4 separate regions of the Homo sapiens genome follow, and all the other regions are linked to region 4. The links are contacts of gene promoters, found by promoter capture Hi-C in blood cells and fetal thymus (Javierre and others, 2016). All regions are on one chromosome and are shown on one strand. The core of a region is centred on a gene start or on the middle of the fragment in contact, and the rest is flanking DNA. Distances in the headings are between cores, read along the strand shown.

The links. Contacts are between HindIII fragments. The CHiCAGO score rates a contact against its expected background, and 5 or more counts as called.
Region 1: the fragment with the promoter of ENPP4 here is called in contact with the fragment with the promoter of ADGRF1 in region 4 in 1 of 17 cell types (M1 macrophages); the score reaches 5.4 in M1 macrophages.
Region 2: a contact is called between a fragment that was not itself captured here and the fragment with the promoter of ADGRF1 in region 4, in 1 of 17 cell types (M2 macrophages). The highest score is 5.6, in M2 macrophages.
Region 3: a contact is called between a fragment that was not itself captured here and the fragment with the promoter of ADGRF1 in region 4, in 2 of 17 cell types (M2 macrophages and M1 macrophages). The highest score is 5.8, in M2 macrophages.

What each region holds. Positions count from the first base shown.
Region 1 is chr6:46,128,591-46,131,290 of GRCh38, forward strand. It overlaps ENPP4 (ectonucleotide pyrophosphatase/phosphodiesterase 4), which reads left to right and starts at 1,399. Exons shown (of 4, transcript NM_014936.5): 1 at 1,399-1,599. It also overlaps a transcript of CLIC5 not described here. The HindIII fragment of the contact is 7,807 bases long and covers 1,013-2,700 here.
Region 2 is chr6:46,408,397-46,411,232 of GRCh38, forward strand. All of the region lies in intron 2 of RCAN2 (regulator of calcineurin 2), which reads right to left. Among named protein-coding and RNA genes, the nearest start is that of RCAN2, 82 kb to the right of the region's middle. The HindIII fragment of the contact is 9,133 bases long and covers 1-2,836 here.
Region 3 is chr6:46,425,767-46,428,466 of GRCh38, forward strand. The region is part of intron 2 of RCAN2 (regulator of calcineurin 2); the gene reads right to left. Among named protein-coding and RNA genes, the nearest start is that of RCAN2, 64 kb to the right of the region's middle. The HindIII fragment of the contact is 5,753 bases long and covers 1-2,700 here.
Region 4 is chr6:47,040,943-47,043,681 of GRCh38, forward strand. ADGRF1 (adhesion G protein-coupled receptor F1) reads right to left here and starts at 1,390. Exons shown (of 15, transcript NM_153840.4): 1 at 1,249-1,390. The HindIII fragment of the contact is 2,028 bases long and covers 810-2,739 here.

The DNA.
Region 1 (2,700 bases), core at 149-2,648, 910 kb before region 4:
ATTCATTTGATAGTAAGAGGTTGGTATTGTAACAAGACGCGTTTTGCAGATGAGGAAATGAAAGCTCAAATAGGTTGAGACACTGGCCCATGATTGCTCTGCTGGTGAGTGACAGAGTGAGTATTCAAACCAGGTTCTAGGGTCTGCAGGTTCTAGGGATTCAGCTACAGACCCACTACCATCCCCTCCAGCTCTGAAAGCCCATGGATCTAAGATGCCCATATTCACCAATGCACAGGCCAACCTGAGACTTAAAACTGGAATTAATTTATCAAGGCACAAACTAATAATCAACGGAATACATCTATTGCCAAATCATCTCCATGGCTGCTTCCAGATTGTTGGTAATAGCTATACTGTAAGGTTCAGACCAAGGGGACCAACGTCAGAATTTGTTATCTAAGGTCCAGTACTGCAGTTTACTAATCCAGGTACTGGATTTACAGCTATTAAATACTTAACACTTGAGGATATCACATGTGATTAATATTCTTAATTTATTTGTACTTTTTATTTGAGCTGGAGATACAGTAGTGAACAAGAAAGAAAATACCTTCTGGAGCCTGCATTTTAACAAGCGGGACAATTAAATTCAATAGTGATTTAGCAAGTACTTCTATACCAAGTTCTGTTTGGCACTACAGATAAAAAGAAAAAAGATGCTATCCTCTCACTGCCAAGTGTGCCTGGACAACCCAACTGTTAGCGAATAATTCTACTTCTGTTTGGTAACTGCTCTTTATGTTGGAAAGTTTAGTTACATTATTCTATTAAATAACCTTCCAATTAAAAGCAGGAGCACAATCCCACATACGCGTCTGTCAAAGTAAGCACCCATTTCTCAGCTGTAACTCATTACTGGTTCCCTGCCGCAGGCACTGTGCTGCTTTTAACCTTACTTGTAAACTATTACCTAACTTCCCCGGTAAAGGTGCTCGCTTATCCAGTAAGACGGACAGACGTCTATGGTAGATCCACGTTTCATTTATCCCAACTCACTGGAACTGGCTGAAGCTTCTCCAGACTTGTGCCGGACCTTGGTGCAGCCAAAGTTGCTTTCTCCGCGGCCACCTAAGCTGCCAGGTGCACATTAACTAAGTGGCAGAAGGCCATCGGCTTGGCAATTGCCTGAGGCCTTTCCGGGACTCGCTGGTTTTTAGGTTCCATGAAGGGCATCCAGATCTAGGATGATACGAAAAGTGCGTGGTGGGAGAGTGGAATCAACCTCTACTCTTAGGTCCGATACAACCCCTCCAAGCACCTGTCTAACCAATCGGAAAGAAAGTTACATTCAACGCTGGTTCTAGCATCCAATCCAAGGACGTGTTTCAGACTCTGCTGCCCGGTCCCAGCCAGCCCTGAGCTGGCGCCTTAGACGCTCGCCTGGCAGCTGCGCACACTCGGAGCGCCCCGAGCGGCGCAGATAGGGACGTTGGGGCTGTGCCCCGCGGCGCGGCGCCTGCCACTGCGCAGGCGCCTCAGGAAGAGCTCGGCATCGCCCCTCTTCCTCCAGGTCCCCCTTCCCCGCAACTTCCCACGAGTGCCAGGTGCCGCGAGCGCCGAGTTCCGCGCATTGGAAAGAAGCGACCGCGGCGGCTGGTGAGTACGCGCCTCGCGCGCTCGGCGTTCTGGGGGGCAATGTCACCCCCTCTCCAGTCCCCTAGGGGCTTTGAAAATAGAGATGGTGAGACCAGACCCTATGACCCACTCTCCCCCACTACACGCACATCCCCTGGGGCGCGGCGGGGACGTCCACGAAGGGACTCAAAGAGCCAGGGAGGTGGCGGGCCGAGGCGGAGGCCAGGAAGGGAAGAGGAAAGAAAAATTAGCAGGTGCTGGGGAAGGCAACCTGTGGTGTTAAGTGTGAAGGGAGGGAAGTCAGCCGAACGGTAGTGGAGGAACCTAAGGTGGGTCTGGGGTAAAATTGAGGGGAGCTGGGGCGGGGTCGCCAGGCTTTTGGTTTTAAAGGAGAACCACCCATGGCATCGACATCCGTCTGTCTGAATATTAGATTAGAGTTTATGTTAATTATAGATAATGATATTTAAGAACTAATTTCCTGGAAAACAAGCCAACCAAACAATAAAAGGTACATTTAAGTGCCTTTTTAAAGGGCTGGATTAAAAGCACGTAAGGACTTAAAAACAATGCTTCCTTTTCTTGTCACAACCACCCTATGAGATCATAGCATTCCCATTTTACAGATGACGAAAGTCAGGCTCAGAGAAGTGAAGGGACGCGTCCAACCAAGATTGTACAACTAGTGACAGGCAGATTCAGGTTTACACCAGATCTGACTCCAGAAGGGCTTTGCTTAATCAGGCAATCTTGTGGACCCAAGTCTGAAGGAAGATTTGCCAACTACTGTGAAATATCAACTGCTGGTTTCAGTATTATGAGCTTCTATTTCTTCTTTTTTCCCCTCAGAGATTGTTTCAATCTGTTTTAAGGAAATTAAGAGGCCTGCTGCACTTGTGCGTCTTCCCCCCACCTCCACTTAAATTAGTTACAGGATATAATTTGGAAGACATTTTTTTTTATGGTCTCAGGTCTTAGATTTATTTATTTATTAATTATTATTATTATACCTTAAGTTTTAGGGTACATGTGCACAATGTGCAGGTTAGTTACATATGTATATATGTGCCATGCTGGTGCGCTGCACCCACTAACCCATCATCTAGCATTAGGTATATCTCC
Region 2 (2,836 bases), core at 242-2,741, 630 kb before region 4:
GGGACTAACTAGCTGAGCACTTTAGCCTGACTTCTCTATATTGCAAAAGAAGAGCTGGATGTGCTGCCCTTCACATATAGAAGATTCTCTATGTCATTGCAATATTCCCAGCATTGTTACTGTTTTCTAGTAATGGTGAAAGACAGATGCTAGGCACTGCCACTAGGACTCTTAGTGCATTGACCAAGATTTGGCTACAGATTCCTGCCACCCAAACGGAGCAAAGCTGCCAGCCCACAAAGAGAAGGAACCCAGCTCCTTGGCCTCTCTGCCTTGGTTCTCTATCTGACTGAGTTATCCAACCACCATGAATACCAGACAATAAGGAATAATAATTTAAAAAAAACTGGTTAGAGGCTTGGCAAGGAAACAAAAATTTCTATTTGTTTTGTTTTTATTTTTATTTTTCCAACAGGAGATAGTTTGGCCAAGAAAAATATCATCCTTCCATGGATGCCTGGTATCCTGTTTACTCCTACACATTGTTCTTACATGTCAGAAAATGAAGTATGAGCTAAGGAAAGGCCAGTCATTAAATAAAATGCTGGGTCTTGGGAGACATTTTAGGGTATATAAATTTCATAGAGACATATCAAACTGCAAAAACCAAATGAAGATCATTTGCCACTATCTAAGATGTGTTTTTAAATTATACTAATAAAATAGATTCCATATATACTGATTTACTTGAAGGAAAATGTTGTTTTTCCCTTAGGAGTCTTTAGGGGAAGACACAAATATTAACAATTCTGTTTAAAGAAACGAAATGGTCTAACATGATTTCTCAAGGTTCTCATTTAACCACCGAGTTCCATAGATACACTTTCTTTTGAATAAAATTGTACAGGTATATATGAAAGCAATAACTAAAAATCACATTTAGTAAGTATGGAAGGGTTATATAACCAAATCAGAAATATAATACTGAACTTATTTTTACATTATTATTCACCTTTCAAAGTTTTATTAATTCCTTCATGAACTTTAAATACCACTTAACCCATTTTGGCAGCAGTTAAATTAATGTTTTCAATTGACTTTTGTGGGATCACATTTCTAATACACAAACTATATATACATACACTAGACTCTCCATGTTCATTCCACATTGTCAAGAGAGTACAGGCCAAGAAAGGCATCTGCAGTTTGCAACCATGAAAGTACTAGATCACTTTTTCCAATATATCTTCATCTATAACAGGCTCTTAAATGCACCACTCATTCATTAGTTCATTATGTACATTATGAGCAGAGAGCCTGCTGAGTGCCAGGAACTATGCCAACATTTTACTATTTCCTCCATCATACATTCTTTTAATTCTTTTCTGTACATAAACGTTCATAAAATACTTTTGATCAAAGTTTTGATATATGAGTTTGATATGAGATATATCGTGTGATAGTTAATTTTAGGTGTTAATTTAACTGAACTAAGGGATGCCCAGATAGCTGGAAAGGCATTATTTCTTATTATGCCTGTGAGGGTGTTTCCAGAAGAGACTGGCATTTGAAATCAGTGGGCTTAGGAATATCTGCTGTCACCAACATGGGCAGGTACTATCCAATCAGCTGGAGGTCAGACAGAACAAAAGGCAAAGGAAAGGTGATTTTGTTTTCTCTCTCTCTCTCTCTCCTGGAGCAGGGACACTCTTCTTCTCCTACCCTTGGACATCAGAACTCCAGCTCTCCAGCCTTAGAATTCTGGTATTTGCACCAGTGACCCTCTAGGGTCTTTGGGCTTAGACTAAAAGTCTAGGCCTTTGGGCTTAGACTAAAAGTTATACCATTAGTTTCCCTGGTTCTGGGGCCTTCTGACTTGAACTGAGCCATGCTACTAGCATCCCAGGTTCTCCAATTTGCAGAAGGTCCATCATGGGACTTAGCCTTCATCATTGCTAAGCTAATTTCCTTAATAAATCCCCACTCATTCATCCATCTATCTACCTACCTACGTACCTTTCCTACTGGTTCCGACTTTCTGGAGAACACTGACTAACATATATCAATAATAGACCCTATTTTCAATCGTACATTTGAAGTAGATTAGGACATGGTAAAAAAAGGTAACCAGGATTGGTGAGAAAAATTCAGAGCAGGAAACAACAAGTGAAGTATTTGACATCGTCTTTCTCCACCTTCTGGCCACAAGGCAAAAAGGCATGTCTGAGAAATAATTGTTACATAACTACTGGAAACAGCTCTTAAAATGGAAATCTTTTGCCTGTTACTATTCTAATATTTACAGAATGTCTATTCTAGGCGAGGTTCCAGATTAGAAACTGGCCCATAGGAATAACCTGCAGGAAATATGCTTTTCTTATTTTGTGAAAAAAATCCCATCTTATAACAGCAAATCTTCTTTGAACTACTCAAAAACACATTAATAATATTATTTCAAAAATATTCAGTTTTAACAAGGATGATATTATATTAAGCTATCTATCAATTTCAAAGCCCTTTTATATCCATGATTATGGTTATCCTGACAACAGACTGAAAAGCCTTTTGCCATGCACCAGCATGGTGGGCAGCAGGGAAAGAACAGGCTTGGGAGGGAGGCAGGTCCAAGTTTGCCCATCAACAACCCCATTTCTTCACCATGTGACCCTTAACAAACACTTAGCCTTCAAAAGTGCTCACTTATTTCAAATATCAAATAGTGAGAGAAGAACTTACAGTTTCTGGGAAGATCATATAGAATAGCCGATAGCATATAGTATACAGAGCCCATACAGGGATGAATGGATAAGCAAAATGTGTCATATACCTATGATGGAATATTATTCAGCCTTAAGAGGAAGGAAAATCTGACACACGTTACAACATGGATGAACCC
Region 3 (2,700 bases), core at 164-2,663, 620 kb before region 4:
CAGCCATCCTTATGAGATAAAATTAACTTCTCAATTACAATTATACATTAAATATTTCTCAGTGGTTCACTTCGCAATAGCTTTAACTCTGGAAGTTTGTTCAGATAGAGGCTAATTACTTCTTTCTTTCTTTTTTTTTTTTTTTTTTTTGAGACAGAGTCTCACCTTGTCACCCAGGCCGGAGTGCAGTGACACAATCTTGGCTCACTGCAACCTCTGTCTCCCGGGTTCAAGCGATTCTCCTGCCTCAGCCTACTGAGTAGCTAGGACTACAGGTGCCCACCACCATGCCCAGCTAATTTTTGTAGTTTCAGTAAAGACAGGGTTTCACCATGTTGGTCAGGCTGGTCTCAAATTTCTGACCTCAGATGATCCACCCCCCTCAGCTTCCCAAAGTGCTGGGATTACAGGCATGAGCCACCATGCCCAGCTGACTGATTACTTCTTTAAAAGGTGTGTTAACATTTCCTTCCCACAGAAATTTAATTATTCTTTTATTGCTATTTTAAATGAATATTTTCGCAGAATGTTTCTAAACATAGATAAAATGATTTCACAATTGCATTTCATTATGTATAATAGACCTTCTCTAGGTTTTACTTTCAGTGTTCCTGTAATAAAATTATTATTAAAGACACAGGAATTTTTGGATAAATGTTAATTCTTTTCATCATCAAGCAGTTTTTAAAAAGACAAGCAATTTTACCGCTTTTAGTACTAATCACTTTAATTAATCTGCATGGGAAAATAGTAGGCAGCTGAACACTGTATTCCATAGATATTTTTGAATGAGAGGAACAGCTGGCTATGCAAATACATACAGGTAAATGAATGAGCCCTAAATCTTAGAATGAAAAACTAAAATGCCTTCATGATACAAAACAGATCTAGCATACAAGAAGGGGAAATAAAACATAAATTCATGGGTAAAGAAGAAGGTATTTTTTACTGAACATCTACTGTGTAAACAGATCAGGTGTTCAATAAAACTGTGCTGTGAAAAGCCCACTTATACACTTAAAAAGAGTATAACACAGAGAGAAGCATGGAGTGTTTAAGTAACTTGCTCAAGGTCACACAGCTAGCAAGTGGTAGAGATGAGATTTGAACTCTGGCAGACTTTTAGCAAGTAGAGGATAGGGTTTAAGTAGCAAACCTGTATGTGAATCCTTTTACTAACTTATTAAATATGTGACCTCAAGAAAGTTACTTTGCTTCTCTAAATAGAAGGCAGATAACAATGATCCTCCCTCCTAGGGTCATTGGGAATAATATGGAAGAAAGAGTCTTATTAGGAGGGTAAGAGAGGGGTCTATATTATCAGGATAGTTTTCTGCATCTCTGAAATAATTTTAAATGTTTTGAATAACTGGAATTTAGAATGACCCATGTAAAACAAAATTTTAGGAAAATTATATGAATCCTTATAAAAACTATACAGTTAATACCTTAAAAACCACATTATCATCTCTTACTTTGTTCACTTAGTGTGCCATAGGAACTGTTATTTATTCTTCTCAGCAGTCCAGCTTACTGGTTACATGCATGGGCTTTAGAAACAGACCTTTTAGGCCCACATCCCTAGTTGACCTTGGATTAGTTAGTTACTGACCTTCAATTTCCTCATCAGTAAATGGATGTAAGTATTAGTACCTTTCCCATTGCATAGTTATTAAAGTTAAATAAGATTATACATGTAAAATAATTAAAATCATGCCAGGAATATAGTGTTCAGAACTCAACAAATTTAGCAACTATCTTTCATCTAATTGTTTCTCAAGGGCTTGGGGCATAACAAGACTGGGTAAAATGTGTATTGAGTAAATAAATAATGACATACCTATCAGATTAATACACTAATGAACATTCTCATTGCTTTCTGACATCCTGCTCTCTTAACCCGGATTCTGAGTCACATGACCTCGCATGCAATATAGCTGTATTGACATACAACCATCAGAGGGCTTTGCATTTTCAAAAGAAACGAGAGAAACCAACAGATAGACAATTCAAACTTTCAAGCAATCCAAGCGTAAGTTTATGGCAGACATTGTCTGTTGATTCCACATAAGTGATTTCTTTCTTCTCCCTTGATGAGAGCCTTGATTTACTAAGGACCACGTTTCAGCTACAGGATGAATCTGTTATGGCTAAGCTAGGACCACATTTCAGCTACAGGATGAATCTGTTAGGGCTAAGCTAGGACCACAATTCAGCTACAGGATGAATCTGTGAGGGCTAAGCTAGGACCACAATTCAGCTACAGGGTGAATCTGTGAGGGCTAAGCTAGGACCACAATTCAGCTACAGGATGAATCTGTTAGGGCTAAGCTAGGACCACATTTCAGCTACAGGATGAATCTGTTAGGGCTAAGCTAGGCCTGGTTGTCCTATTCCTCTCAGATAGATGCTTGTTTTTCCAGGCTCTTTTGCATCTAAGGGTACCAGCCAATGAGAGGTAAGTGAAGATTCACTGGGGCTAGGGAGTACTCGTTCTGCCAAATATTTTTACTCCCTGATCAAAGAATATAAGAATGATGCCAAAAAAAAAGTCCCTCACCACAGCAGCGTCACCTTGTAGTATTTATTCCCACTGAAAATCACATTATGTATTTTTTTATGTGTTCATCATTTCTCTCCATGAGATGATATGCACCATGAGTAATGGTATAGTTTATGCATTATTCATGGTACTTTGAA
Region 4 (2,739 bases), core at 140-2,639:
ACTCTACTTTTGGAGAAGAAAGACATACAAGGCATCCAACAATAATTCACATCAGCTTGGGGTTGTGCACAAAAGGTGAGTTTGCAAGTTGAGCTTGTCAGACTCCACAGGCATACACTCCTATTTCCAATCTTAACGCTTATTGGCACCATTTTACAAATGAAATAACCAGGATAAGACAACTAAATAATTTGCTCAATGTTTTACTACTTGTCAAAGGTTGAATAAAGTATTATGGGACCATTATTAGAACACTGTTGTCAATTTGGGTTATGGTTAGATAATGAGTGGTGTTTTCTTAATGACAACAGAGCATAATAAAAGGCTTGTGTTAATATTCTAACATATTAAAGAATGTACTTTTATTTATTTTTTGTTATTCTTGCCTCTGTTTGTAATTTCCAGCCCATGAATGCTATTATCAAGTTGAGCTTAATGGATCTCAGCATGAAAAAGCCAAGGTCATCACTTCTCCACACCTCTCCCACCTTGACCTTCTTTCTATATCTCCTTCGGTATTTTTCCTTCATGTAGTCTCTGGCATGGTACATTACATAGGCTATCAGGTTTACATAAATGGATTTTTCATGAAAACAAAGAAAAGAGAAAAGAAAAATTATATATTTTCAAGGCCTCTACTAAGAAAATACAGTGTGACATTTTATATTTATTTGGGGAAGTAGCAGGAGAAATGGTTAGTCAATTCTAGGGTTTTTTGGAGTCCTGGGAAGGAGTTAAATTGAGAAGTACTTCCTGGATATATATGGATCCAGGCAAAGCTTAAACTAATTCACCCTAAAGGAAAAATAAGCTTAATTCTCTCAAGCATAATTTTATTTTAAGAGATTGCAAGGGTTAACGTATTATGAATTAGTGAAAACCATATGACTGATACTTTAACAAGTATCTTTGGTGGAGCCCTTTTTATTCTAGGCAATCTACCTCCCTGGCACATCAGAACAATGGGGTTCCTGTGTTATCACAGAGGGAAGAGTGTGCTTTCAGTCAGAAAATCTGGAGCTTGAGCCTCAGCCAATCACCTCATTATAGTTAGTAAGCGGGTTGAAATCTGTTGTTTCTGCTCATTGCTTTTTCAACTCTGTTCCCTTATTTAACCATCTTCAGGAAATGATACATTGAAATCAGAATTTTTTTTTCAAGGAGAGAAAAAATAATCTCAGATTAACAGGTAGTACTGGTCATCGTAATACACGTTCTTAGTAATCAAAGTACAGTTATTGGGCTTACCTGGTGATTTATCTCTTCACACCAGAACTCGAGGGAGCCCTTCCTTCAGTATACTTGTGGCTCAATCACTTCTTATGCTGTTTGGAAAGAAAGTATCAGTATCTGAGCCACAGCAGCTCACTGGCATGAACACAGGCTCACTGATCCATCAGCAATTCCTGGCACGCATTACTGCCTGTGCAGGTAGACAAGCCTGGGACACACCCCCTTCAAGAAGGAAACAAAATACTTTTCTCCTAACTCCCCCTCCCGCTTAAAGTCACTATCAGGTCTGGTAAGAGGAAGGAGCACAGAGCTCAAGACTTAATGATTCTCCCAGCAGACATAAATGGGTGTCTGAAATCACAGAAGGGAAATGGGAGAGAAAAGCTCTAGGGGAATGTGGAACACTTTTGCCCTAGATCGGTTTACTACAAAATGCTACTCCATCAAATCTTCCTGTCCAACCTCTGAACACACTGGGTCATACCCTATAAAGCTGAAGGAATGCAGCCCTTCATGCATAATTCCAATGAGGAGAGGTGGGTAATTCCTGTGGGGCAGAAATAAGGGTAGATACTGTTTTTCCTTTTCCAACTTTTTTATTTAAGACTAAAGAATCAACTAGCTACTTTCCCAGATAAAACAACCTCAGACTTCTGGGTGGGGTAGTACCAAAGGAGCTGTGGCAAAAGACAGCAACAGGGTGGATGCTGGGGTGAATGCTTTTGGTGTGTTTTTTGTGCTTAGAAAACCTAGAGTGAAACCTGATTAACTTCTTTAGTAAAGATTTGTTTTCTTTCCAAGGAGTCATCCAGTTTGAAAACTATGAAAGGTCAAGATTATTATGTGCTGTATCTTTAGCCACATTGGCTCATAAATTACTTTTGGTCAAGGTAATGAGCTACTAACAACCACGTCTAAATTAGCAATTTGTAATTCTGTTATGGAATAATGAAGGGGATAATAATATGTTAATTCTCAAAAATGCCACTGAAAAGAAAGCAAAGGATGTCTCTGAATTCAATTAATTTATTAATTTTCTTTTGTTTCTTTTAAGCACTCCACGTTTTACAAATGACTTGAGCTGGCTTACAATGTTAATGCATAAAATAAAATAGTGTGAGAATAAAAATTTTAAAATCATTATAAAACCTCTATATAAACTATAAAAAAGGAAACTATAAAGAGTCAATTAAGAAAAGTGATGCAAATAATAATCCCTGAAATTATTGTTTCATAAATTTGAAACTTATCTCTAGGACAGAACTTCCTAACAGTTAAAGAAAAGGGGAAGCTAGTCAGGTACACTGTTCTCACAATCAGGAAAGAGGAAGCATCTATGTTTTCATGAAAGAGTAAGTAAATTCTAATAGAAACATCTTTTTTAGAGTGAACAATATTCCCGTCAACATTTGAGCTTCTAATTGCATGTTGAAGACCTTTAGTGCTATGTGGGCCTAAACCCAGTATGACCCACTTGTCTTCCACACCAGCTGGGCCACTGATCCC